7 separate regions of the Homo sapiens genome follow, and all the other regions are linked to region 6. Evidence: promoter capture Hi-C in 16 types of primary human blood cells and fetal thymus (Javierre and others, 2016). All regions are on one chromosome and are shown on one strand. Each heading gives the region's core, a stretch centred on a gene start or on the middle of the fragment in contact. The rest is flanking DNA. Distances are from core to core; before and after follow the strand shown.

Region 1 (3,496 bases), core at 391-2,890, 310 kb before region 6:
AAGCAGCGCGCGGGCAGCCCGCCGCATCATGTCCACACTAGTTGGCTCAAAGGGTGGGTTCTGCATGTGGAGGAGGCTGGCCTGGCTCTGCTGGAACTGTGTGGCGGCAAGGCTGTCCTCTAGGAAGCCCAGGAGGTTGCCGATACTGCCCTTCTGCACTGCAATGGCACGAGCTGCCAGGCTGTCCCCCTGAGCCAGGTTGGCCAGCAGTACCACAGCCATCTCCCGGCACACCGGGTTCTTTCGGTCACTGAGGAAGCGCACCATAGTGCTATACAACTTCTCCAGGCGGCTGAAGGGGGGTGTGGCCAGAATCAGGTCCACATTGTTGTCCTGGATGCTGAGTTTGCTGAGGGTTTCCAAGACCAGTCTCTGCGGGGAAAGGACGGCATTGGGGCCCAGGGTGGAAAAGGGGTCCTGGGCTTCAGCTGAAGGGCAAACTGCCCAGTGTAGGAGTCCGTCCAGGACAGGCAGGCAAATGCTCTCGGGGTATGGAGATAGGTCCAACTGCCCCGAGATGTTGGCGAGTGTAACCAAGGTGTTTTCCCGGAGCATCTCCAAGCAGTCCCACCACCACTCCACTTTGTTGCAGCTCACCCCTTGGTCCTGTTCCTCCTCCTTTTCATAAGTTAGTGGTGCCTGCTTCCGTTCTGGGTGCTTGTGGTGCAGCAGGATCAGCTTGCCCAGGATGAGCAGCAGCCCTGGGTGTTTGGACATCTCAAAGTCATTGCCTGGCACAAATGACAGGCTTCGAATGGTATTGGACACACAGACGCAGCGCTTGGCAAGAGAATCCTGCCAGTCCAGAAGGGTACACAGTGGGGTCTCATCCTTACTGTGGGGTTCGTCCTCTAGGATCTTGATGTTCCGGTGGCTCTGTGCTGGGCTAATGCCAAATGGAAACTTGCTGCTCTCCTTGATGGCCTCTGAACTCTTAGCTCCATCCTCGGTCAAGGTGCTAGACCGAGTAGACAACATGTCATCCATAGTGGCTGTGATCCGTTTTTCTGGAGGTCCATCAGGTGGGGGCCCCTCCTGGTCTGTTGTCCCTGGTGTACCCTCTGCTGTTGTCACATGCTTCCGAGGGGCTGGTGGGCAGGGTGCGTGAGGCCGGGAAGGCAGCAGCTCTGTCTTGCTCTCGAAGTGGGTCTGGATATGCTCAGTGGTGTCCCCCCCACCAATCCGCCAGTGCAGCAGGCCACTGTCAAACTCCTGCACACGCCCAAGCTTATCTGAGCAGTCCACCACAAATGGATCATTCTTCTGTACGATCTTTACTGGAAGCTTGTCAAACTTACTGATCAGCTTCTCCTCACTATTCTCTGAAGCTGGCTTGTCCTTGCCTGAAAAGGCTATCTCCTCATCATTTTCAACTACTTCCTCTTCTTCTTCCTCTTCTAGTTTAGGACCTAGAAGTTCTTCTTCTTCTTCCCCACCCTCCATGGGAGCTGGACTAGACACCTTGCTGAACCTCCCAGGATCCAGTAGCGTTCTCTGTCCTGGGTCACCCACCTCATACTCCTTTAAAATGCCAAAGATCTCAATCAGGCATCGTCGGAAATATTCTACAAGGAGCTCTAGCAACCCTGGGAGCTAAAAAGAGAAAGAACAGGAAATAAATTAAGGGAGAAAAGTGGCCTAAGAACAGAATTATTGACTTGAGAGACCTCCCCAAGTCTTCTGTATCAGTTGGGAGAGGCAGAGTTGCTCCTTTCCCAAAGGTTCTCCACAGAGCAAATTGTTCATCTTAATCTCTTCTATGCCCAACACAAAGTTCTTTCTTCTGCCCAACCTACCTTCACGTAAGCCTATCTCCAGGAACACTAGCCAACAGCTTTGCACCTCACCCACCAGGGCCAATCATCTCTTAGCCTTCTCTTTTCCCAATTAATCTTCTGCTTTTCTTCACCAGGCCAGTTTTCAACCTGGTGGTCATTGCCATTATCTCTTTTAGGACACTCTCTCCATCTCACTGCCAAGTGGAACCCAAGCTTAGGCATGGTGACTTAAGCTAAGAGAAGAGAATGCCATGTGGGCAGATGTTCATGGCTCTCTTCTCCAAGCTCCCCACAAGTCCAGGGGGCTGGAACTCCATGGATCTTGCAGCATAAGGAGTGGGACGAGGCTTCAGCTCTCCAAACACTGGTCCAAGCTGGTGCTACAGAGACCCAAATTCCACCTTGGATAATATATAGGCCATTTATTTACCTCTAGAAGAAAACACTCCTCTCCAGTCACAATCTTTGGCTGAACAGTAGAGCAGATGGAAAAAAAAATAAGGGCTTTCGAATTAGATCTAGGGGCTGGAAGCAGTGGCTCACACCTGTAATCCCAACACTTTTTTTTTTTTTTGAGATGAAGTCTCACTCTGTCATCCAGGCTGGAGTACAGTGGTGTGATCTCAGTTGGCTGCAGCCTCCGCCTCCTGGGTTCAAGCGATTTTTCTCCTGCCTTAGCCTCCCAAGTAGCTGGGATTACAGGCGCCTGCCACCACATCGGGCTAGTGTGTGAGAGTGTGTGTGTGTGTATTTTTTTTTTTTTTTTTTTGAGACAGAGTCCCGCTCTGTTGCCCAGGCTGGAGTGCAGTGGCACGATCTCAGCTCACTGCAACCTCTGCCTCCTGGGTTCAAAGTGATTCTTCTGCCTCTGCCTCCCAAGTAGCTGGGATTAGAGGTGTGTGCCACCAGGCCCGGCTAATTTTTATATTTTTGGTGGAGATGGAGTTTCACCATATTGGCCAGGATGGTCTTGAACTCCTAACCTCAAGTGATCCACCCACCTTGGCCTCCCAAAGTGCTAGGATTACTGGCGTGAGCCACTGCGCCCAGCCTAATTTTTATAGTTTTAGTAGAGATGGAGTTTCACCATGTTGGCCAGCTGGCCTCAAACTCCTGACCTCAAATGATCCTCCTGCCTCGGCCTCCTGAAGTGCTGGGATTACAGGCGTGAGCCACTGCACCCAGCCAGTAATCCCAACACTTTGGAAGGTTGAAGTGGGAGAATCACTTGAGCCTAGGAGTTTGAGACCAGCCTGGGCAACACAGTGAGACCCTGCCTCTATAAAAAAATAAAGAAGTTATCCGGGGCCTGGAACGGTGGCTCACACCTGTAATCCTAGTACTTTGAGAGGCTGAGGTAGGTCAATCACTTGAGCCCAGGAGTTTGAAATCAGCCTGGGCAACATGGTGAAGCCTCATCTCTCAAAAAAAAAAAAAAAAAAAATTAGCTGAGCATGAGCATGTTTGCACGCACCTGTAGTCCCAGCCACTTGGGAAGCTGAGGTGGGAGGATCACCTGAGCCTCGGAAGTTGAGACTGCAGTGAGCTGTGATTGCACCACTGCACTCTAGCTTGAGTAATGGAGACCCTGTCTCAAAATAAATAAATAGCTGGACATGGTGGCATTTGCCTGTAGTCCCAGCTACTCAGGAGACTGAGGCAAGAGGATCGCTTGAGCCCAGGAGTTTGAGGCTGCAGTGAGCCATGAGGGCACTACT
Region 2 (3,346 bases), core at 536-3,035, 490 kb before region 6:
ATCCAACCATGTTGCTATTTTTCATTCATTTTCTACTGCTCTATAATTAATTCCTTTGCATGAATATCCCACATTTCTCTATCTCCTGTCAGTAGCATTTCCGTGTTTTCGGTTTGGGGCTACCACAAACAATGTTTCTAGTAACATTCTTGTATACATTCTCTCCTGGTGCATTGCACAAGAGCTTACTGTGGCTGTACCATAGGAATGGACTTGCTAGGTTTTAGAGTACACAGATGTTCAACTGCACAAGATGTGACTGTGAAGTGAGGATGTGACTCATTCTCTGAGCTCCAAATAAGAATACAATGTGCACTTTCCTCAGGAGGGAATGTGGACAAGATGTGGTGGGAGGCGCTGGGATGGAGGGTCTCTGGTGGAAATTGAACACCTATGCCTAATGCATCCCAGTGATATCTTCCTGTTGCATCCATGATCTCTTTTAATCCTCCCAGTTAAAGAGAGGTACTACTATCTCCAGAGATTAGGTTTAGAGAAGGAAAGTGCCTTGCCAAAAGTCAGTTTGTGCCAACTGCCTGAGCAAACAATGTCCCCTCTCTAAGCTTCAGTTTCCTCTTACTGTAAAATGGATATGATAATACCTGACCCACTTCACAGATTAACGGCTTCGGCATGCATGGCTCCTGGAGATGCTCCCTAAAAGTCACTTGTTTGTTTGTTTGTTTTGTTTATTTGAGACAGAGTCTCGCTCTGTCGCCCAGGCTGGAGTGCAATGGCGCGATCTCGGCTCACTGCAACCTCTGCCTGCTGGGTTCAAGCCATTCTCCTGCCTCAGCCTCCCGAGTAGCTGGGATTACAGGCACTTGCTACCATGCTAGGCTAATTTTTTGTATTTTTAGTAGAGACTGGGTTTCACTATGTTGGCCAGGCTGGTCTCAAACTCCCACCTCGCGATCCTCCCGCCTCGGCCTCCCAAAGTGCTGGGATTACAGGCATGAGCCACTGCGCCCGGCCAAGTCACTTGTTTATTAATGCTATTGTTAAGTTATTGAGTTGTTATTAATATTAAGGGGAACAGTAACCCAGAATAGTCTGAGCCTTGCCTTATTGACATTCAATGGTGTTGCCTCTTGCAGAGACCTTTTTTGGATGTAGTGACCATGGCCCATTTTGGCCACCACTTCTGATCCTGGATGTATCTTTCAGAGCTGCATATCCGGTCCCCCTCCTCTACCCTACTCGGGGCCTCAGAGCTGAGGTTCCTGTCTTTACCTGCAGATTTCTCTGAACAAAAGAAAAGGTAAACTGATCAGCGGCCCAGGCTCCCAGTTCTGCCTCAGGGCAAAGGGAGAAATTGGGGCCCAGGGCCTCATTCAGTGGAAAATATTTGTTGAACACCTAGTATGTGCCAGGACCTGTGCTGAGCACCAGGAACACAGGGGAACAAGACCAAACCCTGCAAGGTAGGAGGCTAAAGGAGGAGACAGAAGACAACAAAACGACAGTGTGCTGAGTACAGGGACTGTTCTAACCAACAGAAAAACAGACAGGATCAGGGAAAGCTTCCCAGAAGAGAGCTTCCCTTTGAGTTGGAGCTTTACGGCCGGGCAGAAGTTCCACAGGTGCTCAGAGACTGACAGGACCACCAGCCTGTTGAACAGAAGAGGAGACTGAGCCCCAGCGCCTCTCGACCCCTCCCCGCCACACCTCACCTACCCGGACTAGGCTGAACGGGCCGAGCACTCGAGCGGGGACGCGCAGCTCTGCAGAGCCCCGGGGCGGGGCCTCGGTCCAGGTGCGCGGTAGCGCTTCGCGGAGGCAGGAAGTGTGTCCCTAGCGGCGGCCCGTGCAGCGCTCCCGCGAGACGCTCACCTGCGCCCCAGGTGAGCGGCGAGGGGGCGGGGGAGGGGCTGAGCCGGAGGCGGCTCACCTGGCGGGACAGGTAAGCCCGGCGCGGGCCCAGGGGGGCGCAAGCCAGGGCGGCGCCGGTGTCGGGAGCCCCCCGAAGCTGAGCCCGGACAGGAGAGGGTCCCGGGCCCGGTTCCTCGGGGGCCACCCTCCTACTTCCGGGGTGCGCGGGCCGGGCTGGGGAGCGGCCTGAGCGGGCGCCCGGGCTGGGCGCGCAGAATGGGGTGAGGGGCCGCGTTCGCCCTTAGGGCTGCACTGGCTGGGTGCGGGGGCCGCACTCACCGGGGGGCAGCGTCGGGATGGGACAAACGCTGGTGCTCACCCCGAGGAACAGCGTCGGGACGGGAGGGAGGCTGGGTCCGCCCGCGGGGTAGGGCCCTTGCAGCTGGAGAGGGTAGTGCTCGCCCCGAGGGCAGAGTTGGTGTAGGGGCTGTGGTAGCCCGGGGGACAGTGCCAGGATCTGGTTCTTCCTTGTCCCCAGGACTAGCTGCCCGCGGATATGGGACTCTCGGGCTGCACCTTTGGGGCAGGAGGCCGAGGGTGCACTGAGCCGACGGCTGTTTCTCGAGCAGGACTGGGGTGGTCCTCCCCGGCCGGGTGTCCGAGGCTTGGCACTGGGCTGGGGGCAGAGGCTGGTGCGGCCGGGCCTGTCCTGGGGACCCTCGGAGGAGGGGACGGTACATAGACCCTTGAGTGTGTGTGTGTGTTCGCGGGACTAAGGGGGAAGAGGAAAGCATCAACGAGAAATCCAGGGAGGGCGGGCCGGGACCCTCTGACCCCCGGGAACATCCTTGCGGTGCCTTAGATCGCCTAGTGACCTAGCCCCTCCCATGGGCAAGGCCACTGCGGGAAGCCCCCTGCACTCAATATTTCATTTAAATCTCACGGGATTGGCGGGGCATGAAGATACTAGTCTCTCCTTATTTAAAGATGAGGAAAGTGAGGTTAAGAATCTTGCCTCAAGCCACAATAGGGACAGGGAGTCTCCCCTCACTAAACCAAGTGACCAGGTTCCTAGGATTGGGCGGGGTGGTGGCGGGGCGGTGGCAGCAGGGTCGGGGAGATACAGCCTGGAAGAAACTGCCTGAGTTTGACTTCAGGAGGGTTCAATGGCTGGAGGGAAGTGGGGAACTGAGGCAGGCATTGTCCTTATCCCAGGTCTTCTCTTCTCATCCCACCACCGCTGGAGATGTGTGGCACACACAAAGTACGCAGGCTTCAGAGCCTGGCGGGCCACAGTGCAAATCTTACTCCAGCCCTCTCTTGCTAGGTGTCTCTGGGCCAGTCACTTCACCTTTCTGAGCTTCAGATTCCTGATCTGTGAAATGGAGATATACTACTTATTTTCAGAGCAATTGTGAGAGTCAAATAAGGTGAAAGTCCTCTGGCCCATTCACTGCTGTTTTCTCAGCATTTAGCACAACGCTGGGCACCTCGTTGTATTAATTTAATCAATAATAGAGAGTCCTAAAGCTTT
Region 3 (3,712 bases), core at 1,135-3,634, 360 kb before region 6:
CTATCACCTCCCATCAGACCAGGAGCTTCTGGGAGCAATATTGCTCTTCCCAACTGCCTAGAGCCTGCAGGGTGAGCCAGCTGCACAGCCCACCAGCCGGCAAGACAGGATCTCAGATGAGGGTGACCGAGTGCCCTGATTTTCCTGGGATTGAGTGGTTTCCTAAGACAGGAGACTTTCCAGGTGGTCCTGGGTAAACTGGGAGGAGCTGGTCACTCTACCTCAGACTGTCCCCACAGGGCAGGAGCCCTGGGCCAGACCTGTTGGGCTGGAGTTGCTGGGCTGGGGTGCCAAAGGGAAAAGCCCACACTGTCTACATGAGCCTAGGACCAGGTAATCAGTTCATGCTCACATGAACAGCACCACCTGCCTCAGAGACAGCTCCCAACCTTCTGGAAAAGGTTCAGTGATCTTAGTCCTGATCATTTTCGGGGAAATATGTTTTTGGTTTTTTTTGTTTTTTGAGACGGAGTCTTGCTCTGTCACCAGGCTGGAGTGCAATGGCGCAACCTTGGCTCACTGCAACCTCCGACTCCCTGGTTCAAGCGATTATTCTGCCTCAGCCTCCTGAGTAGCTGGGATTACAGGCACACGCCACCATGCCCAGCTAATTTTTGTATTTTTACTAGAGACAGGGTTTCACCATGTTGGCCAGGATGGTCTCAATCTCCTGACCTTGTGATCCGCCCGCCTCGGCCTCCCAAAGTGCTGGGATTACAGGCGTGAGCCACTGTGCCAGCCCTGGGAAATATGTTTTACTTTAATTAGTTAGAAGTCTCCTGGTCACACCCAAAAATTTGGCTTCTATTCAAGTTTGAGAATTCAAAGGCCTCCAAAATGCCACTTTTGCACTTTGCACCTGTTCGCCAAGAAAAGTCTTAGGGACATTCAGCGCCCTACAAGATTGATTCCACCCCATCCTTCCAACTGGAATATCTCTAATATCCCTAACTATCTGAAGTGCTCCTCATATTCTAGCCAACGTGGCCTGCTCAGTGGCCCGTTCCCATCCCTCCTCCTTCCCTCTGCCACTCTCTCTTCCCTCAGCTTTGTCTGCCTGAAGGGCTGCCTCCGCACAGCTCCTGTGCTTGAATTCCACCCAAACTTAAAGACTTAGCTCAAGCATCACTTCTCCAGGAAGCTTCTCCAGTCCCCCAGGCAGAAGATGCTCCTGACTCCTCTGACCCTCTTCTAAAGCCTGATCTCACTGGCAGTGGCTGGTCAGGGCTCCCACCTGGGGCCAACTTGTCTGGAACCCATGAGAGTAAGCTCCTATCAGATTCATTGTTGGCCCCCACCTGCCTTCACTCTGCTGTCAGGGGTCAGCATATAGAATTAACACACAAATGAACAAACCCATGATGCCCAACTGGGAGATGTCCTGACTGTTTCCTCACCTGTCACCCTGACAGAGCAAGGAGGGCCTTCACAGAAGCTCACCTATTCTTCAGTCATTCATTTACTCATTTAGCCAACGTCACTGAGCCTTCTACATGGCGACAAGGTGAACAAGATGCTGGAATTCCATGCCCTCACAGGCCAGCAGAAAGGATGATTTTGTAATGACCACCGTTGCAGCACAGGTTCAGAGAAGGAAGGAGAAGGTGCTCTGGGAATGTGCAATGGAAGGCCTGGCCCAACTGGGGTCAAGAAGGCTTCCCAGAGCACAGGAAACAAGTGGAGAAGAGGATGAAGGAGATGTGTCCCTGCTGCCATCTCAGAAGAGAAAGCAAGGGGTTTGGGAGTGAAAGGCACACACTCTGTCTCTGCTTCTTTATCCTGGCCCTGTGATCACCTGCCTCCGTTTCTCCATCAGTACAATTGGTTAACAGGGTCGCCCTCACTGGGCTGTTGTGAAGATTTGTGGGGATAATAGATGGAAAGCACTCAGCACACGGCCAAGCTCTTTCCAAGAAGGGGATTACTGCTGTCACTGTGATCCACGCAGCTCACAGGAGGCCGAGGATTCCAGGCAGCCAGACCTCTGGGTCCGGCTGAGCTGGACAATAATCCTGCCTCATGATTAGCCCTGACCAGAAGGGGAGGAAGAACGGGGCACAGCTGGGCCTCCCCAGCTGCCAGGTGGGCCAGCCCAGGTCAGACCGTGGGATCCTGAAGGAGTGGCCAGGGACCCAGAGTTTGAAGGGGTAGGACGCTGGATGTAGGTGAGAGGAGGTGGCCCTCGCAGGCGTGGCTGAGGATGGGGCTGGGCAGAGGAATGAGACAAAGAGCAGACAGAGCCCAGAGAACATCCTCTCCAGCTGCTCGCCCTCCCTCCCTCCCTGCTGCACAGAGTATTAGTGAAATGATTTCTAGCGATGGATGCAGCAGGGCTCTGACATTTACAGGCCACTAGATGTCTTCAGGGCCAGCTGGGTGTTTAAAAGCCTGTGTGAACACCATGCTGTTAGGGGAAGGAGCTAACCACGGACCGGAAACCCCCGAGGTGTGCAAGTAGCCACGTCACTTCTCAGCAGGAAGAGCTGGGGTGCAGCAAGCTGAGATTAGGGACCTGGCCCAGTACCCCGCCACCCCGGAACCCACACAGCAGTCTGAAAGGAATCAAGGGCCACCTGGGCTGCCTGGGAGCACAGGGTCTTTCCAGCCACTGCCGTTCCTCACACACGCCCAGGCTGTTTGCCACTCTGGGCTTTGGCCTTACTTTTCCCAGATCCCCGTATTTCTACCACACTCATCTCCAGTGCCGCCTCCTCCTAGAGGTCTCCCCTGACCACCTGACCTAAACTAGCCCACTCCCCAACACCTACTGGGCTCTTCCCTAGATAACCCCACCGTCAAGCCCTCATCTGTTCAGGCCGGTGCTTCTTTGCTCAGATGTCACCTCCTTCACAAGATGTTCCCTGGCCACCCTATGTAAAATCACACACCCTCCCTGTAGCCTTCATCCTCCTTCCCTCCTTTCTTCTCTGTCTGATATCCTAGATATTTAATTATTTGTTATTTATTGTCTCTTTCCTCCTCCTCAACTGTCAAGCTCCATGAGGACAGGGACTATTGTCAGTTTTGTTCACTGCTGTATCACATCTAGAAAAGTGCCTGGCACATAGTAGGGGGTCAATAAATGTTTGATGAGTGAATGAATAAGTGTATATGAATGTTTAAGAGCAGGTGCTCTAGACTGAGGTCTCATCTCAGCTCTTCTACTTACTTTGTGATCTTGGACCCTCTTTTGCCTTGATTTAATTAATCAGTAAAAGGAGAATGACAACAGTACCTACCTCATAGGATTACTGGGGGATTAAATAAGATCATGCATATAAAGAGCTTAAAACAGTGCCTAGCCCCCAGGAACTACTCAGCTCCACGCTGGCTGCCATCGGGGCCTTTGCTGGCTGGCCAGCATTTCTTGCTTACTTATTTGCTCACTTGTTGATCATCTGTCTCCCTCTGTGCCAGTGTCAGCTCCAGCCTGCCTTGCTCACGACTGCATCCCCAGTTCCTAGTATAGTTTTGGAAGAGAAAACCAGGCCTCCTCCCAAGTCAGGGAATGTGGAGCTATGGAGACCCAGCTTCAGCTGGGAGTAGAAACCTCACCGATCTGTTTCTCCAGGGCGGCTGCTTCACAGACAGTGGCCCGGGGCAGGATCCCAGGGTCGGTGAAGCTTGTCTGCAGCAGGCAGCTCATGACGAAGAAGAAGAGGATGGCAGCGATGATGGGGATGGCAAGGGTCAGCTTGCGAGCCAGGTAGGG
Region 4 (3,585 bases), core at 17-2,516, 320 kb before region 6:
GCTGGCACACATTCTACGATTTAATCTAGCTAAAAACACGGAATGCTACTTTCTATTTCCTCTGTGTCTCTTATCCATACAGCTTGGAGAATTTTAGAAACAGCCAATGTGCAACTCCAACAGGAAGAAACTGCTAAGAGGTCGGCATGGGGAAAAAAGATGTCCCCAGGGTGGGGCCACAGCCAAGAACAGAAAATCAGATATAAGATCAAACCTTTCCCATCCCTCTCTATCACCACCGCCACCACCCAAAACATTGGTTAAGGTTATCTCCTCTGGAAATTGGGGGCCTGCCTGAGTTGAGAACCTCCTGAAGTCAACAGTCAAGAAACCAATATGGATATAACTATAACTGTGTATTAGGGAAAAAGATCCCAGAGATATCCTCCGTGCTTATTCCTGTATCTCAGTCCAATCAGGTCCTTTCACAACCCTCGTGTTTTTGCATATGCCCTTCCTTTTACCTAGAATGTTCCTCCTCTGCTTCTTATATGGAAAATCTCATTCTTCAGGACCCAGCTGAAATATGATGCCTTTCTCAAGTACTCCAGTGAGTTACCTACTTCTTCGCCTCCATAATACTTTATCTGAGCTTTAAAAAAAAAAATCTTGCTGGGCGCAGTGGCTCGTGCCTATAATCCCAACACTTTGGGAGGCCAAGGCGGGTGGATCACGAGGTCAGGAGATCCAGACCATCCTGGCTCACACGGTGAAATCCCGTCTCTACTAAAAATACAAAAAATTAGCCAGGCATGGTGGCAGGTGCCTGTAGTCCCAGCTACTCGGGAGGCTGAGGCAGGAGAATGGCGTGAACCTGGGAGGTGGAGCTTGCAGTGAGCTGAGATCATGCCACTGCATTCCAGCCTGGGTGACAGAGCAAGACTCCGTCTCAAAAAAAAAAAAAAAAAAAAAATCTCAGGCCGAGCGTGGTAGCTCACGCCTGTAATCCCAGCACTTTAGGAGGATGAGGCGGGCAGATCACTTGAGGTCAGGATTTCGAGACCAGCCTGGCCAACGTGGTGAAACCCCATCTCTACTAAAAATACAAAAATTAGCTAGGCGGTGGTGGCAGGCGCCTGGAATTCCAGCTACTCGGGAGATTGAGGCAGAAGAGTCGCTTGAACCCAGGAGACACAGGTTGCAGTGAGCTGAGATCGCACCACTGCACTCCAGCCTGGGCAACAGAGCGAGACTCCATCTAAAAAAATAAATAAATAAATAAATAAATAAAGTAAAATAAAATAAATCTCAAAATAGCACTCCCTTTTCTATCCCACTGTACTATAATTTATGTCAAATGTCTGTCCTCCTATTTATACCATGAGACCCCCCAAGGCAGTAATTTTTTTTTTTTTTTTTTTTTTTTTTGAGATAGAGTCTCACTCTGTCGCCCAGGCTGGAGTGCAGTGGTGCAATGTCAGCTCACTGCAACCTCCACCTCCCGGGTTCAAGCAATTTTCTGCCTCAGCCTTCTGAGTAGCTGGGATTACAGGTGCCTGCCACCACGCCCGGCTAATTTTTGTATTTTCAGTAGAGACAAGGTTTCAACATCTTGGCCACGCTGGTCTTGAACCCCTGACCTTGTGATCCACCCACCTCAGCCTCCCAAATTGCTGGGATTATGGGTGTGAGCCACCGCGCCTGGCCGCAATTTTGTCTTATTTATGTTTCATCCTTAGAGGTCTGACCCAGAGTCTGGCATAAAGAATAACCCTAAATAGTCATTGAATGAATAAATTCAGTATGGATCACTCAAACGGGAGATGTTAGCTGCCTTCCCTGTCCTTGGCCAAGGGGTTTTGCCTGTATTCACATCCTTATCCCAGTCAGGAATCCACCTCACCTGAACATGCATGCACAGACCTCCAAACAGCAGCAGCACTGCAGCGTGGACCACGTACACAAACACCTGAGGACTGAGGAATCCAAGATCGGGCTTCTCTAGGGTCTTATTGTTCTTGCTCCTTTGCAGCCCAAGTGTAAGGCAGAGCCAAGGGTGAGTGGTCACGTATGTCCAAGTTGCCCAGGCAACCAGTATAGCCACTGGTGCAGCCAGTAGAAAATTGGGCACCTGCTTGAGCTCATAGTATTTCAAAAAGCCAACATTCCAGTAGACATCCTGGATATAGCTGTATATTAGTGGAACATCCCAGAAGCACCAAGGCGGTTCATTTCCCTCTGCAATCCGGTAGCCCTTGTCTACAGCTAACTGTACCAAAGGCTCAGGAATGGGGCGGGCTGAGCCTGGCAGACAGAATTGGGTGTAGGCATAATACTGAAAGAGGGCAAAGGGAAGGCCAAGTGTGAACACCGACAGAAACAGAGAGGCCATCAGCTTAAAGAGCTGTCTCAGAGGATTCAGCATCGTTAGAGAAGAGAAAAAGCCTTGGCATTGAGAATGCATGAGGAAGCCAACACTGACCAGCCCGTTGGAGCGTACCCCAGTGGCAAAGGCAAAGAGGAGTACACTAGTCCAGACTCGGCCCCTCTCCAGCTGCCCCATGGCACTGAATGTCAGGAGGGCAAACAAAGCTTCTGAGTAACCAGCTGCCAGGAAGACATTGGCAGGGCTGAGACAGAAAAGCAGAGCTGCATAAAAGGACTGGTGGGGACAGTGCAAAACCAGACAACCCAGGTCATGAAGTGCAACTGCAGCCAACATGAAGAACAAGAAATTGAGTGATGCTACCGAAATCAGCAGGCAACTGCGTAGACTCAGTAACCCCCGTAAGGGTCTCAACAGTTCAGTCCCCACCAGCAGGGCCAAGGGGAAACCAGGAAAGAAGGCAAAGTTGTGCTCATACAGGTAGCCATGCTCAGCAATGAACAAGAAGTGTTCAGCATCCCAGTGAGACAGGCCGCCCAGAAGACCTTCCACGAGTTGGTCCACAAAGCCTGAGGGGGCCAGGCGAGGAGGAGAGAAGGCTTCTGCATGGTGATCTGGGATGATGGCATTGAAGAGGGCCTGTGGAGTAAAGAAAAACCAGAATTTTGGTTGAGTAACTGGAAGAAAAGAATTGCCATTTAATAAAATGAGGAAGAAGGCCAGGCTCATGCCTGTAATCCCCACTTTGGCAGGCTGAGATGGGAGGATTACTTGAACCCAGGAGTCCATGACCAGCCTGGGCAACATAGCAAGACCTTGTCTCTATAAAAACTAAAAAAAAAAGTCTGAGCACAGTGGCTCACGCCTGTTATCCCGGCACTTTGGGAGGCTGAGGTGGAAGGATCACTTGAGCCGAGGAGTTTAAGACCAGCCTGGGCAACGTAGCAAGACCTTGTCTCTACTAGAAATAAAAAAATAAAAATTAGCTGGGTGTGGTGGCACATGCCTGTAGTCCCAGCTACTTGGGGGGGCTGAGATGGGAGGATTGCTTGAGCCCAGGAGGTTGAGGCTGCAGTGAGACATGATTGTGCCACTGTATTCCAGCCTGGGTGACAGCATGAGACCCTGTTTCAAAAACACTTAGAACTCTTCTTGAGGACTGAACCCTGGACATGTTAACATCTGAAGGCTAGAAAGAGGATGAAAATCCAGCAATAAAGAAAAAAAGGAACAGTCAGTGAGGTGGCAGGGAACCCAAG
Region 5 (3,559 bases), core at 506-3,005, 420 kb before region 6:
AATCCCCGTCTCTACTAAAAATACAAAAATTAGCCGGGCGCAGTGGCTCATGCCTGTAATCCTAGCACTTTGGGAGGCTGAGGCGGGTGGATCACGAGGTCAGGAGTTTCAGACCAGCCTGATCAAGATGGTGAAACCCTGTGTCTACTAAAAATACAAAAAATTAGCTGGGCACGGTAGTGGGTGCCTGTAATCCCAGCTACTCAGGAGGCTGAGGCAGGAAAATCGCTTGAACCCAGGAGGCAGAGGTTGCAGTGAGCCAAGATGGCGCCACTGCACTCTAGCCTGGGTGACAGAGCAAGACTCTGTCACAAAAAAAAAAAATTAGCTGGGCATGGTGGCATGCGCCTGTAGTCCCAGCTACTCTGGAGGCTGAGGCAGGAGAATCGCTTGAACCCAGGAGGTGGAGGTTGCAGTGAGCCGAGATCACGCCATTACAATCCAGCCTGGGTGACATAGTGAGACCCCATCTCAGAAATAAATAAATAAATAAAGTAAATCTGACTTTTTTTTTTTTTTTAAAGAGTAAGCCCTAAGGCTTAACAAGATCATTCATACCCTTTGTTGGAGGAGTTTGGACTTGATGGTTACTATTAGGAAGTCTGTAGTGACAGAATGAAAATTTTATATGAGGCCCCTTCTTGCTGGCACTGTCAATGGATAGATAAGAGGGCTGGAGAACAAAGACCCAGATTTAAAGCCTCTGTCTTTGGACAAACCAGATATGTAGTAACTACTTCCCCGTCCTCTCCCAACCCCTTTAACTGGAGTTTGAGAGCAGCCTTCTCACTGAGAGCCCGTTTTTATCCAGGTACCATGGAGAGAAGCTACAGCCATTTGGGCAACTGAAGAGGCCCCGTAGAAATGGCTTGGGGCTCATCTCCACCATCTATGATGAGCCTCTACCCCAAGACCAGACGGAGTCACTGCTCCGCCGCCAGCCACCCACCAGCATGAAGTTTCGGACAGACATGGCCTTTGTGAGGGGTTCCAGTTGTGCTTCAGACAGCCCCTCATTGCCTGACTGACCGGGTTGGGGGCTTCCTTTCATAGCTACATGATGAAAACCCTCTGCCCTGGCCTCATCTACCACTGAAGCAGAAAGGAGTCTGGGAGCAGCAGTCTTCGTGGCTGGTTCAGGGTGTTTTGTTCCGAGCCTGCCTGCCTGCCGGTTCTATACCTCAGGGGCATTTTTACAAAAAGCCCCCTCCCGTCCCCTCCCCTTGGATATTAGGGGTAACGACCGCTTGTCTTTGGTCTCTAACCCTAATCTCTGGGCTTGCCCTTTGCCTCCTGCAGAACTTTGAAAAGCTGGGTTGAGTGAGGCTATCAGCACAGCCTTCCTTGGGGACTCTGAAGGTGTCCCCACGAAGGCCAGAAAGGGGGAAAGGGACCTGGGCGAGGAGAGGATTTGTGGTGCTTGGAAGAGCCGGCCTTGGGTGGGCCCTCCACCGCCTCTACCCTCACTGGGTGGGACTGCCAGCGGAGAGTCCGCGGGAGGTGGCTTGGGTGTGCGACGTCACGGAAGAATAAAGACGTTTACTACTGGAGCTCCCTTACTTTTCTAATTCGAGTCTGAAGGTTAGAGAAATTCCGAGAGCGATTTTCCCGCAAAGACCCCACATTCGACCCACTACCCGCGAGAGAAATGCGGCTGCGCCGCCCGCCCCTCGGCGTCTAGCTTCGTCCCCGCCGTGAGGGCGGGACTTCCTCTCGTTGGCTCGCCGTTTCCGACGCTGTCCGGAAGTCGAGTTAGTCTAGTTAGTATCGGCCTGTTATCTCCTTTTGCGCGACACGGTCTCAGCTGTTCCGCCTGAGGCGAGTGACGCTGGCCGCCAACGAGGTATACGTACTGGGACCCTCGCCCTCAGTCTCGTCTCCGGCGCGGCTACCTGCCCCGTTTTCCCTGTGAGTTGACCTGCTCCGGGCCGCGGGCCGCCAATGGCAGGGGCCGCTCCGACCACGGCCTTCGGGCAGGCGGTGATCGGCCCGCCGGGCTCAGGGAAGACCACGTACTGCCTGGGCATGAGTGAGTTCCTGCGCGCGCTGGGCCGGCGCGTGGCGGTGGTGAACCTGGACCCGGCCAACGAGGGGCTGCCGTACGAGTGTGCCGTGGACGTGGGCGAGCTGGTGGGGCTGGGCGACGTGATGGACGCGCTGCGCCTGGGGCCCAACGGCGGCCTGCTCTACTGCATGGAGTACCTGGAAGCCAACCTGGACTGGCTGCGTGCCAAGCTCGACCCCCTCCGCGGCCACTACTTCCTCTTCGACTGCCCAGGCCAGGTGGAGCTCTGCACGCATCACGGCGCCTTGCGCAGCATCTTCTCCCAAATGGCGCAGTGGGACCTCAGGGTGCGTCTCAGGGCGGGGAGGCCCATTTTGCGGATGGAGTAACTGAGACAGGGAGGACAGACGCCACGCCCCCATGTCACACAGGGAGGTAGGGGCTGGGTCGCTTTGGAGTAAAACAGGCATGAGTTCAGAATCTGGCTCTGCTACTGACTGGCTGTGTGGTGTTGATAAGTCAGTTCATCACTCTGAACCTCAGTTTCCTCACGTGTAAAATGTGTTAGTAGCCAACTTGGCGATTTTGGAAGTATGGAAGGGGTTAATGTCGAAAGTGGCATGGAGATTGTTGTAAATTGGTGGGCAAAAGTAAATGAAAGAGTGGAGTCAGATGCCATGGGATTTAAACCCCTTGCCCACTGGGAGGCTCAGTGCAAGACCTCTTGTAAGAAAAAAAAAATGACTCCTATTTCCTGGGAGAAGGAAACCAGGGTGGTTATTAGAAAGAAACAGAGGCAGGAGACTAATGGGGAAAGCTTCCCCTCTGTCCTCAAGCCCTCATTCTCATGAGGGAATGCTGATCCCTGTTTCTCCAGGCCACTCTCACCCTGTCTATTCCCTCCCAGCTGACTGCCGTCCACCTCGTGGATTCTCACTACTGCACAGACCCTGCCAAGTTCATTTCAGTACTGTGTACCTCCCTGGCCACCATGCTGCACGTGGAACTGCCCCACATCAACCTCCTTTCCAAGATGGACCTCATTGAGCATTATGGGAAGCTGGGTAAGAGCTTCTGTTCCAGGCGAAGAGCAGGGCAGCAGCTGGGCTAGAATGAAGCAGACATCTCAGCTGAAGGTAGCTGCCTCTGGTGCCTTGCGTGGTCTGGTGATAGTAGCCACAGGCAGGTTCTAACTCCTGCCCATTTATTTTGTGCCACTCTGTGCTAGTTACCGTTGTAGATTTTGGAGACAAGAGAGCTACAGATGGTGTTAGGTGTTACAAAGGAATTAAAGTGATACGACAGTGAATATTTGGGAGTGAAGTGAGTGAGCTTTGGAGTAAAACAGGCATGAGTTTAAATTCTGGATCTGCCACTGAATCATCGTGTGGTCTGGGTAAGTCAGTTCATCTCTCTGGACCTCAGTTTCTCACTTCTGCTCTGAAGCAGTGGCATCTGAGCTGAGACATGAATGGTGAGAAGGAGCCAGCCAAGGGAGGACTGTTCTATGCAGAGGCACTAGTAGGAATAAAGGCCTTGTCTTAGTCAGTTTGT
Region 6 (3,309 bases), core at 103-2,602:
GTTTTTTGATGTTTTTTAGTTTCAGGGACAAGCACGAAAATTCAAAAGCATACACTTACAGCAGACAACCTCGCGGATCTTCTCTGTGGCTATTAAAGACAACGAGAAAGTTAGAAATAGGACAGGTAAGTCGCTTTGAAAGTTTGGTATCAATTTGCTCTAGATTATAGGAGTGTAAATTCAGGACACAGGTTACGGTTAATCACCGAGTCCAGTGGCCTCTGCTAGTCCAAGGCTTTGACCCTTGAAGAGAGAATGACTTACTTCGTCCTTCACCTTTGCTTTATCTCCCTTAGCATCCCCTTCAGCCTATAAGAAACAAGAACAAAAAACTGCAGATTTTGAGGTGGTTCTTAATTACTTCCCAAACTTTAGAGTGCTAAAAATGAAAATTAAAGCAGTCGTCCACACAACTTTTCTAGGACATAAATGAGTGAGCCCGACGTTCGTATAAGAACGAAGCGCGCGCAGGAGCTCCGGCTCGCCGACCCCGAGAAGCGAGGGCTGGACCGGAGCGCAGCCGGGGAGGGCAGCGGAGCCCGCACCACCGCGACAGGCAGGAGCAACAGCTGCAGATGGCGCAAACAAACCCCCTCCGGAGGCGGAGCCCAGCGCCGTTGCTATGGCAGCCGTCGAGGGCGGGAGAGGGAGGCGCGCGCAGCCCGGGGAACTCGTGGGCGGCGACAGCGCGCGTCTCGTGCGCGGGGAACGTGGGCGAGGGGGCGGGGCCATACCGCACAAGCCCCGCCCCTCACGGCGGCGGTTTTTTGGCGGCAGCGCTTTCCCCCGCCCGCCAACCCCGAGCGCCGCCTTCCCGCCCTTTCGGGTTTGAATTGCCCGCCCGCAGGGAGGGGAGGGAAGGGGCCCTCGCGATGGGGGAGGGGGCACGGGGCGGGGGCGGCGAGCCCGAGGAGAGCGGGATAAACAGCCGCCAACATGGCTCCTCCCGCCGCGGCCGCCGCTCCTCCAATATGGCCTCTGGCGCCCGCGGGCAGCCGAGCCGCTCAGGGTTAGCCCCGAGCTGCCCGACACCGTCTCCAGCCCCCGCGCGGGGAGGCTGCGCTGGCTCCTGCTCGGCGCCGATTCTCGCTCCCTGCACCAGGGAGGCGGCGGCGGCGGTGGCGGCAGTGGTGGCCCGGCGCCTGGGGCCCTCGCGCCACGTACCTTTCTCTTGGGCATGGTGGCGGCGGCGACGGCAGCGGGACGTAGGTGCTGGACGCGGGATGCAGCGGCGCGCGGGCTTTGGTCGGTCCGGGGGTCGTTCTCGCCTCTTCTTCACACTGCTCGGGCTCCGGGGGGTTTATAAAGTTTTTATAGCGCTGGGAGCCCCGGACCGGTTAGAACCGGATTTCACCTCCCGCCGCCGTTCATTGGCCCAGCTGGGGTCACGTGGGCGGGGTTTAAACTCACCTCCTCTGGAGGGAGTGAGGAGGGGGGTGTGTGGGGGGGGTAGTGCGCGGAGACGGCGGCGCGCCGAGGGGGTGGGGGCGCAGTCGGGGTGGCGCGCGTCGAAGGCAGTAAATGAGGAGGGGTGCGCGAGTCGGCGGGCTCCGGGTTCCGGCTCCCGCCAAGAGCTGTCTTTTGCAAACTAGCAAGTTCCTTCCACCTTATGCAACCCAGCAACCCACTTCTCCAAGCCGTGCGACACTCACGGCGCATCTCAGCGGCTTTCCTTCCTGCTCCCGCTGGGGGCCCCAGAAGAGGGGTTTGCGAGGCCTGGCTGCACTGCCCTGCTCCTCTGGAAGCAGGAGGAAGCGCGCGGCTGGAGGCACAGGCTGCAGTTCCCAGAGCCCAGGCTGACGCCAAAGTGGGAAAAAGGCGGGGAAACCAGCTTGGCGCAGCCGGACGTGCATCCTTCCGAGCTGCCACTTCGGAGAAGCCTTTCGTGCACCTCACCTGAAAGACGGTCCCACTCGAGGTGGGCTAGGGGTTTCAGGGGGAGACTTTCCATGCAGAGGTGCCTTTTGGGTGCCGTGGGTCAGGTAGGAGCTGTCCTTTCAGCACCCGTTGCGCAGCCGCCTCCCCAAATGCTATCGAAGCCCCCACCCCCAACTCCTCTCGGGTGGCTCCCTTAAGGTCCCTGTATTCCCAAACCTCCAGACCCCGCCACAGTATGGTGGAGAGCGGCCGTCGAGGTCTACCAGCACTCACTTCCCCCTACACTCTACCCCTCTCGGAGACATTTTGCCCAGCTGCCCAACCCGACGCGGCCACCAAGCCTGGGCACTGCAGCCGCAGCTGGCGAAATCCCTCCTTCCACACTGTCAAGCTGGCTGCCTTTCACTTGCGCGAGGAAAGGAGGGTGGAGGAAAGCGCCCGGGGATTAGGAAACAAGTAGAGGAACAGGTGGTGTGATGGCAAAAGGGCTCTTCCGGTGCCCCCTAGTCCAAAGCCAGGGTCTTGGAGCTAGCCAAGTGCACCTGAGGGAGGGTAGGCAATTGCAGCAGCAAAAGAAGGTGTTCTTCCGTTGCAGTTAGCAAACAAGTTTTACATCTAAGAATCTTTAAAAATTCTATTTGAGACCCAGCACACAAGAATACGATAGATGTCCTCAAATGGGGGCTTGGCTCACAGGTGGAAGGACACTAAATTGGTCCCATCTGATTTCTTGAGGCAAGGGTTGAACCTGGCTTGCACAAATCACACCTGTCCAAAGCAACCACGAGTTCTACTATTTTGCAGCCCTTGCTGCTGGGCGACGACGACGACCTCTCTGCCTCTTCTTTCCACCACTACATCGCCTCCTGGGGCAGCTTCTCCCTACTCCACCCTGTGTACCTTTCCCAGAATACAGAACCTCAGGCCAAAGAGAGATGCCAGCCCCATTAATCACCTCTACTGTACCCCAATCATATTACGGAAAGTCAGACCCAGGAGACAGGACTCAACAGCCACGCTCATAGGGCAGATTCCGTTTGCTGCCTCCAGCCCCTCATTCCCGCCTTAATTGTAGGGCTCTGCATTATAGCCGCATAATTCATGCCTCCCTAATTATGGCTGTCAACAGCCCCATTGTAAAGCTGTAAAATGTACAGCACCTGCTCTCCAGGAACCCTGTGCCAGGGATTGGTAGAGGGGAGTGCCAGGTGTGGATGGGGGCTTTGCCAAAGGGTTCACTGATTGGCTTCTCAATCGCCGTGTCTGGCATTTATGCTTGATTCTGGGAGCATGGACAATAGCCAAGAAGTCTCTTGCCGCCAGGTATCCCGGGACAGAAAGGGGAAGAGGCGGGTGGGGTATAGGAAAGTTAGGGGTTTCCTGTGTGCTCTTGCTACAACTTGCAAGATTTCACCTCTCCCCTAGAGGGAG
Region 7 (3,831 bases), core at 268-2,767, 440 kb before region 6:
ACATGACACAACCAAGGGCCTCTCCACCTTCTCTCATCCCCTGTGCTCCACCATCTGAGAAAGATGCCCGGGACAGAGGAGCCACGTGGCAGCAGAGCAACACTTCTGCCCAGATCACAAGTGGGCAACGTCTGCAAAGCAGGCAGCAGCAAGGTGGGGGCAGCTAGCCACAAGCTCTGAGAATCTCAGGCTCTGGCTGTGCAATTGGGCCAGTGGGTCCAGGGAAACAAACAAGGACTTTGGAGTCAGGCAAGATCTGGGCTTTGTCTTCCTGGTGGGATGACCTTGGGCAAGTCACTTTAGCTTTTTTAGTCTCATAAAGTAAGAATCTAGCCTTAGGAAGAGGCTGCCAATATTAGAGTGGGAAGTGCCTGACACATAATAAGTGCTTAGAGAATGGCAACCATATATATACATATATATATATATATATGTATGTATGTATGTGTATATATATATACACATATACATATAAATATACATATACATATACATATACATATACATATACATATATATTTTTTTGAGACAGGATCTTGCTCTGTTGCCCAGGCTGGAGAGCAGTGGCATGATCTCAGCTCACTGTAACCTCTGCCTCCCAGTTTCGAGTGATTCTTTTGCCTTAGCCTCTAGAGTAGCTGGGACTACAGGCACATGCCACCATGCCCGGCTAATTTTTGTATTTTTAGTAGAGACGGGATTTTGCCATGTTGGCCAGGCTGGTCTTGAACTCCTGACCTCAAATGATCCCCCTTCCTCAGCCTCCCAAAGTGCTGGGATTACAGGCATGAGCCACCGTGCCCGGCTGGCAACTATCTTTTATTATAATTCTGTGAGTTCTTCTCAGCAGACCTGGCCTTTCAGGAGTGGTAGGAATCAGGCTGGGGATAAGGATTCTGAAGGACCTTATTCCTGCAGGGGGCCCAGAACTGGAATCAGAGGAGGAGGCCTCCTAGATTGGACAGTGGGCAAAGTCCTCCCAGCCCCCAGGGTCCTGGCTCCCTTCCCTGTAGCCTGCTTCTGGCTGACAACAGAAGCAGGGCCCCAAGGTTAGGCAAACAAGCTAGTGATAAGGCACTTCCAGGTTGGGCCTTGCATTCAAGGCCCACCCAGCTCTGGGGCTGGCTTCCTGGCTTAGCAAAAGCCCTAGTCTTTTGTGCACACAAGAGCGGGCACCAATGGGGACACCTGCTGATTGTGCACCTGGGGCCTTGGTGCCCTGGTACAGCCTGAGTTAATGACCTTGTTTATCCACTTGAGTCATCTGATAAGGGGCAGCTGAGTGAGCGGCAGGTGGCCCTGTGCCCTGCACCGGCCACTTCATTGACTGAGGTGATATCAGTGCCACGTGGGGTTCCCAATGCCCCCTCCCCCACCACTTCCCCACCATTCCTGCCAGGGGCAATGTCTGTGTGTTTTTTTCAATGAACATGACTTCTGGAGTCAAGGTTGTTGGGCCATTCCCCCCGTTCCACTCACTGGGAATATAAATAGCACCCACAGCGCAGAACACAGAGCCAGAGAGCTGGAAGTGAGAGCAGATCCCTAACCATGAGCACCAGCCAACCAGGGGCCTGCCCATGCCAGGGAGCTGCAAGCCGCCCCGCCATTCTCTACGCACTTCTGAGCTCCAGCCTCAAGGCTGTCCCCCGACCCCGTAGCCGCTGCCTATGTAGGCAGCACCGGCCCGTCCAGCTATGTGCACCTCATCGCACCTGCCGGGAGGCCTTGGATGTTCTGGCCAAGACAGTGGCCTTCCTCAGGAACCTGCCATCCTTCTGGCAGCTGCCTCCCCAGGACCAGCGGCGGCTGCTGCAGGGTTGCTGGGGCCCCCTCTTCCTGCTTGGGTTGGCCCAAGATGCTGTGACCTTTGAGGTGGCTGAGGCCCCGGTGCCCAGCATACTCAAGAAGATTCTGCTGGAGGAGCCCAGCAGCAGTGGAGGCAGTGGCCAACTGCCAGACAGACCCCAGCCCTCCCTGGCTGCGGTGCAGTGGCTTCAATGCTGTCTGGAGTCCTTCTGGAGCCTGGAGCTTAGCCCCAAGGAATATGCCTGCCTGAAAGGGACCATCCTCTTCAACCCCGGTGAGCTCCCAGACACTCCTGGGTGGGGGGCAAGGCTGAAGCAGGGGCCAGCCAGGGAAGGTAGCTTCTAAGGGTTTGATATCTGTTATCTCATTGGGTCCTCATTTTCTTTTTATTTTTCTGAGACAGAGTCTCACTCTGTCACCCAGTCTGGAGTGCAGTGGTGCGATCTTGGCTCACTGCAACCTCTGCCTCCTGGGTTCAAGCAATTTTCTCTGCCTCAGCCTCCCGAGTAGCTGGGATTACAGATGGCCGCCACCACTCCCGGCTAATTTTTGTACTTTTTAGTAGAGATGGGCTTTCACCATGTTGATCAAGCTGGTCTTGAACTCCTAACCCCTCAGGTGATCCACCCACCTTGGCCTCCCAAAGTGCTGGGATTACAGGCGTGAGCCACCGTGCTTGGCCAGTCCTCATTTTCATCAAATAGCCATCTCACAGAAGAGGCACAGAGAAGCTAAGTGACTAGCTAAAGGTAACACAGCCAGGTAGGGACAGACCAGGATGGCAACTCAGGTCTATTCACTCCAGAGACTGGCCCTTGCCACTCTGCCTGAGAAATTTGCTCTGACCTTTACAGAAGGCTGTGGGGAGGTGGGGTGGGCAGACACAGCTGTGTCTCAGTCACATCCTCAAAGGAAGGCTGCATGGTGAAGCTCTAGAGCTAAAACTCCTCTGTGGGTTCAGAAAGATCACATAGAAGAGATGACTGAAAGGGGCGTAGGGAGGACAGGAAAGGAGTCTTTATGGAATTCGGCCAGGAGAGCGGCAGATGGAGACAGTGCTGTTTGTAATCTGGAGAGCATCTGAGATGAGAGTTCCCCAGGAGTCCCTTGTGGCACGCATAAATCGTAGTAATTAATTGTAATAATAGTAGCAAATACTCATATCACACTTACCATATGTTAGGCCCTATTCTAAGGGTTTTACATATACTAGTTCATTTAAATCTCATAAAAGCCTAGGAGACAGGTCCTATTAATATTATTATTCCCGTTTTACAGATAAAGAAACTGAAGCCCAGAGATTAAGTGACTTGCCCAAGGTCACCCAGCTAATAAGTGACAGTGCTGGGATTCATACCCAGGAAGCCTAATTCTTAACCATTACTCCACACTGCCTCTTCATAAATGGATGGATGAATACATTGAAAATTGATAAATAAATTACCTCCTCTAAAGGAGGAGGTAGTAGTGGGACCTCAAAGGCCGAGCAAAGGAGGCAGAGGGGTGTCTCTGATGGCCCAGATCTTGGGCCAGTCTTGTCCTTTGGTGGCTGGGAGTAGGGTGCTCACCAGCCCTCTTCTCCCTCTCTGCCCACAGATGTGCCAGGCCTCCAAGCCGCCTCCCACATTGGGCACCTGCAGCAGGAGGCTCACTGGGTGCTGTGTGAAGTCCTGGAACCCTGGTGCCCAGCAGCCCAAGGCCGCCTGACCCGTGTCCTCCTCACGGCCTCCACCCTCAAGTCCATTCCGACCAGCCTGCTTGGGGACCTCTTCTTTCGCCCTATCATTGGAGATGTTGACATCGCTGGCCTTCTTGGGGACATGCTTTTGCTCAGGTGACCTGTTCCAGCCCAGGCAGAGATCAGGTGGGCAGAGGCTGGCAGTGCTGATTCAGCCTGGCCATCCCCAGAGGTGACCCAATGCTCCTGGAGGGGGCAAGCCTGTATAGACAGCACTTGGCTCCTTAGGAACAGCTCTTCACTCAGCCACACCCCACATTGGACTTCCTTGGTTTGGACACAGT

The links. Contacts are between HindIII fragments. The CHiCAGO score rates a contact against its expected background, and 5 or more counts as called.
Region 1: a fragment that was not itself captured here is called in contact with the fragment with the promoter of HMGN2 in region 6 in 1 of 17 cell types (fetal thymus); the score reaches 5.0 in fetal thymus.
Region 2: the fragment with the promoter of KDF1 here is called in contact with the fragment with the promoter of HMGN2 in region 6 in 6 of 17 cell types (total CD4 T cells, activated CD4 T cells, naive CD8 T cells and 3 more); the score reaches 6.2 in total CD4 T cells.
Region 3: a contact is called between a fragment that was not itself captured here and the fragment with the promoter of HMGN2 in region 6, in 1 of 17 cell types (neutrophils). The highest score is 6.4, in neutrophils.
Region 4: a fragment that was not itself captured here is called in contact with the fragment with the promoter of HMGN2 in region 6 in 3 of 17 cell types (naive B cells, total B cells and neutrophils); the score reaches 6.7 in naive B cells.
Region 5: the fragment with the promoter of GPN2 here is called in contact with the fragment with the promoter of HMGN2 in region 6 in 6 of 17 cell types (neutrophils, naive CD8 T cells, fetal thymus and 3 more); the score reaches 7.1 in neutrophils.
Region 7: the fragment with the promoter of NR0B2 here is called in contact with the fragment with the promoter of HMGN2 in region 6 in 1 of 17 cell types (neutrophils); the score reaches 5.9 in neutrophils.

Annotation. Positions count from the first base shown.
Region 1 is chr1:26,777,120-26,780,615 of GRCh38, reverse strand. ARID1A (AT-rich interaction domain 1A) reads right to left here. Exons shown (of 20, transcript NM_006015.6): 20 at 1-1,593. Among named protein-coding and RNA genes, the nearest start is that of PIGV, 9.1 kb to the left of the region's middle. The HindIII fragment of the contact is 707 bases long and covers 1,287-1,993 here.
Region 2 is chr1:26,958,907-26,962,252 of GRCh38, reverse strand. KDF1 (keratinocyte differentiation factor 1) reads left to right here and starts at 1,785. Exons shown (of 4, transcript NM_152365.3): 1 at 1,785-1,903. RefSeq lists a silencer at 501-795 and an enhancer at 1,665-2,347. The HindIII fragment of the contact is 1,819 bases long and covers 1,526-3,344 here.
Region 3 is chr1:26,832,451-26,836,162 of GRCh38, reverse strand. ZDHHC18 (zDHHC palmitoyltransferase 18) reads right to left here. Exons shown (of 8, transcript NM_032283.3): 2 at 3,556-3,712. Among named protein-coding and RNA genes, the nearest start is that of ZDHHC18, 7.6 kb to the right of the region's middle. RefSeq lists an enhancer at 2,335-2,434. The HindIII fragment of the contact is 2,482 bases long and covers 1,144-3,625 here.
Region 4 is chr1:26,793,493-26,797,077 of GRCh38, reverse strand. PIGV (phosphatidylinositol glycan anchor biosynthesis class V) reads right to left here. Exons shown (of 4, transcript NM_017837.4): 3 at 1,844-2,965. Among named protein-coding and RNA genes, the nearest start is that of PIGV, 7.3 kb to the right of the region's middle. The HindIII fragment of the contact is 2,536 bases long and covers 1-2,534 here.
Region 5 is chr1:26,888,479-26,892,037 of GRCh38, reverse strand. It overlaps GPN2 (GPN-loop GTPase 2), which reads left to right and starts at 1,755. Exons shown (of 5, transcript NM_018066.4): 1 at 1,755-2,352; 2 at 2,913-3,069. The coding sequence starts at 1,942. It overlaps GPATCH3 (G-patch domain containing 3), which reads left to right. Exons shown (of 7, transcript NM_022078.3): 7 at 812-1,550. The coding sequence ends at 1,028. RefSeq lists enhancers at 1,412-1,681, 2,192-2,361, 1,717-2,594. The HindIII fragment of the contact is 6,723 bases long and covers 1-2,824 here.
Region 6 is chr1:26,470,483-26,473,791 of GRCh38, reverse strand. HMGN2 (high mobility group nucleosomal binding domain 2) reads right to left here and starts at 1,352. Exons shown (of 6, transcript NM_005517.4): 1 at 1,165-1,352; 2 at 265-309; 3 at 60-89. The coding sequence starts at 1,179. DHDDS (dehydrodolichyl diphosphate synthase subunit) reads right to left here. Exons shown (of 9, transcript NM_205861.3): 9 at 2,486-3,309. RefSeq lists silencers at 628-797, 838-1,127, 1,388-1,657, 1,542-1,957 and enhancers at 1,327-2,036, 2,037-2,745. The HindIII fragment of the contact is 7,205 bases long and covers 1-3,309 here.
Region 7 is chr1:26,911,661-26,915,491 of GRCh38, reverse strand. It overlaps NR0B2 (nuclear receptor subfamily 0 group B member 2), which reads left to right and starts at 1,517. Exons shown (of 2, transcript NM_021969.3): 1 at 1,517-2,083; 2 at 3,406-3,831. The coding sequence starts at 1,552. The coding sequence ends at 3,647. It also overlaps a transcript of NUDC not described here. RefSeq lists an enhancer at 1-50. The HindIII fragment of the contact is 26,571 bases long and covers 1-3,831 here.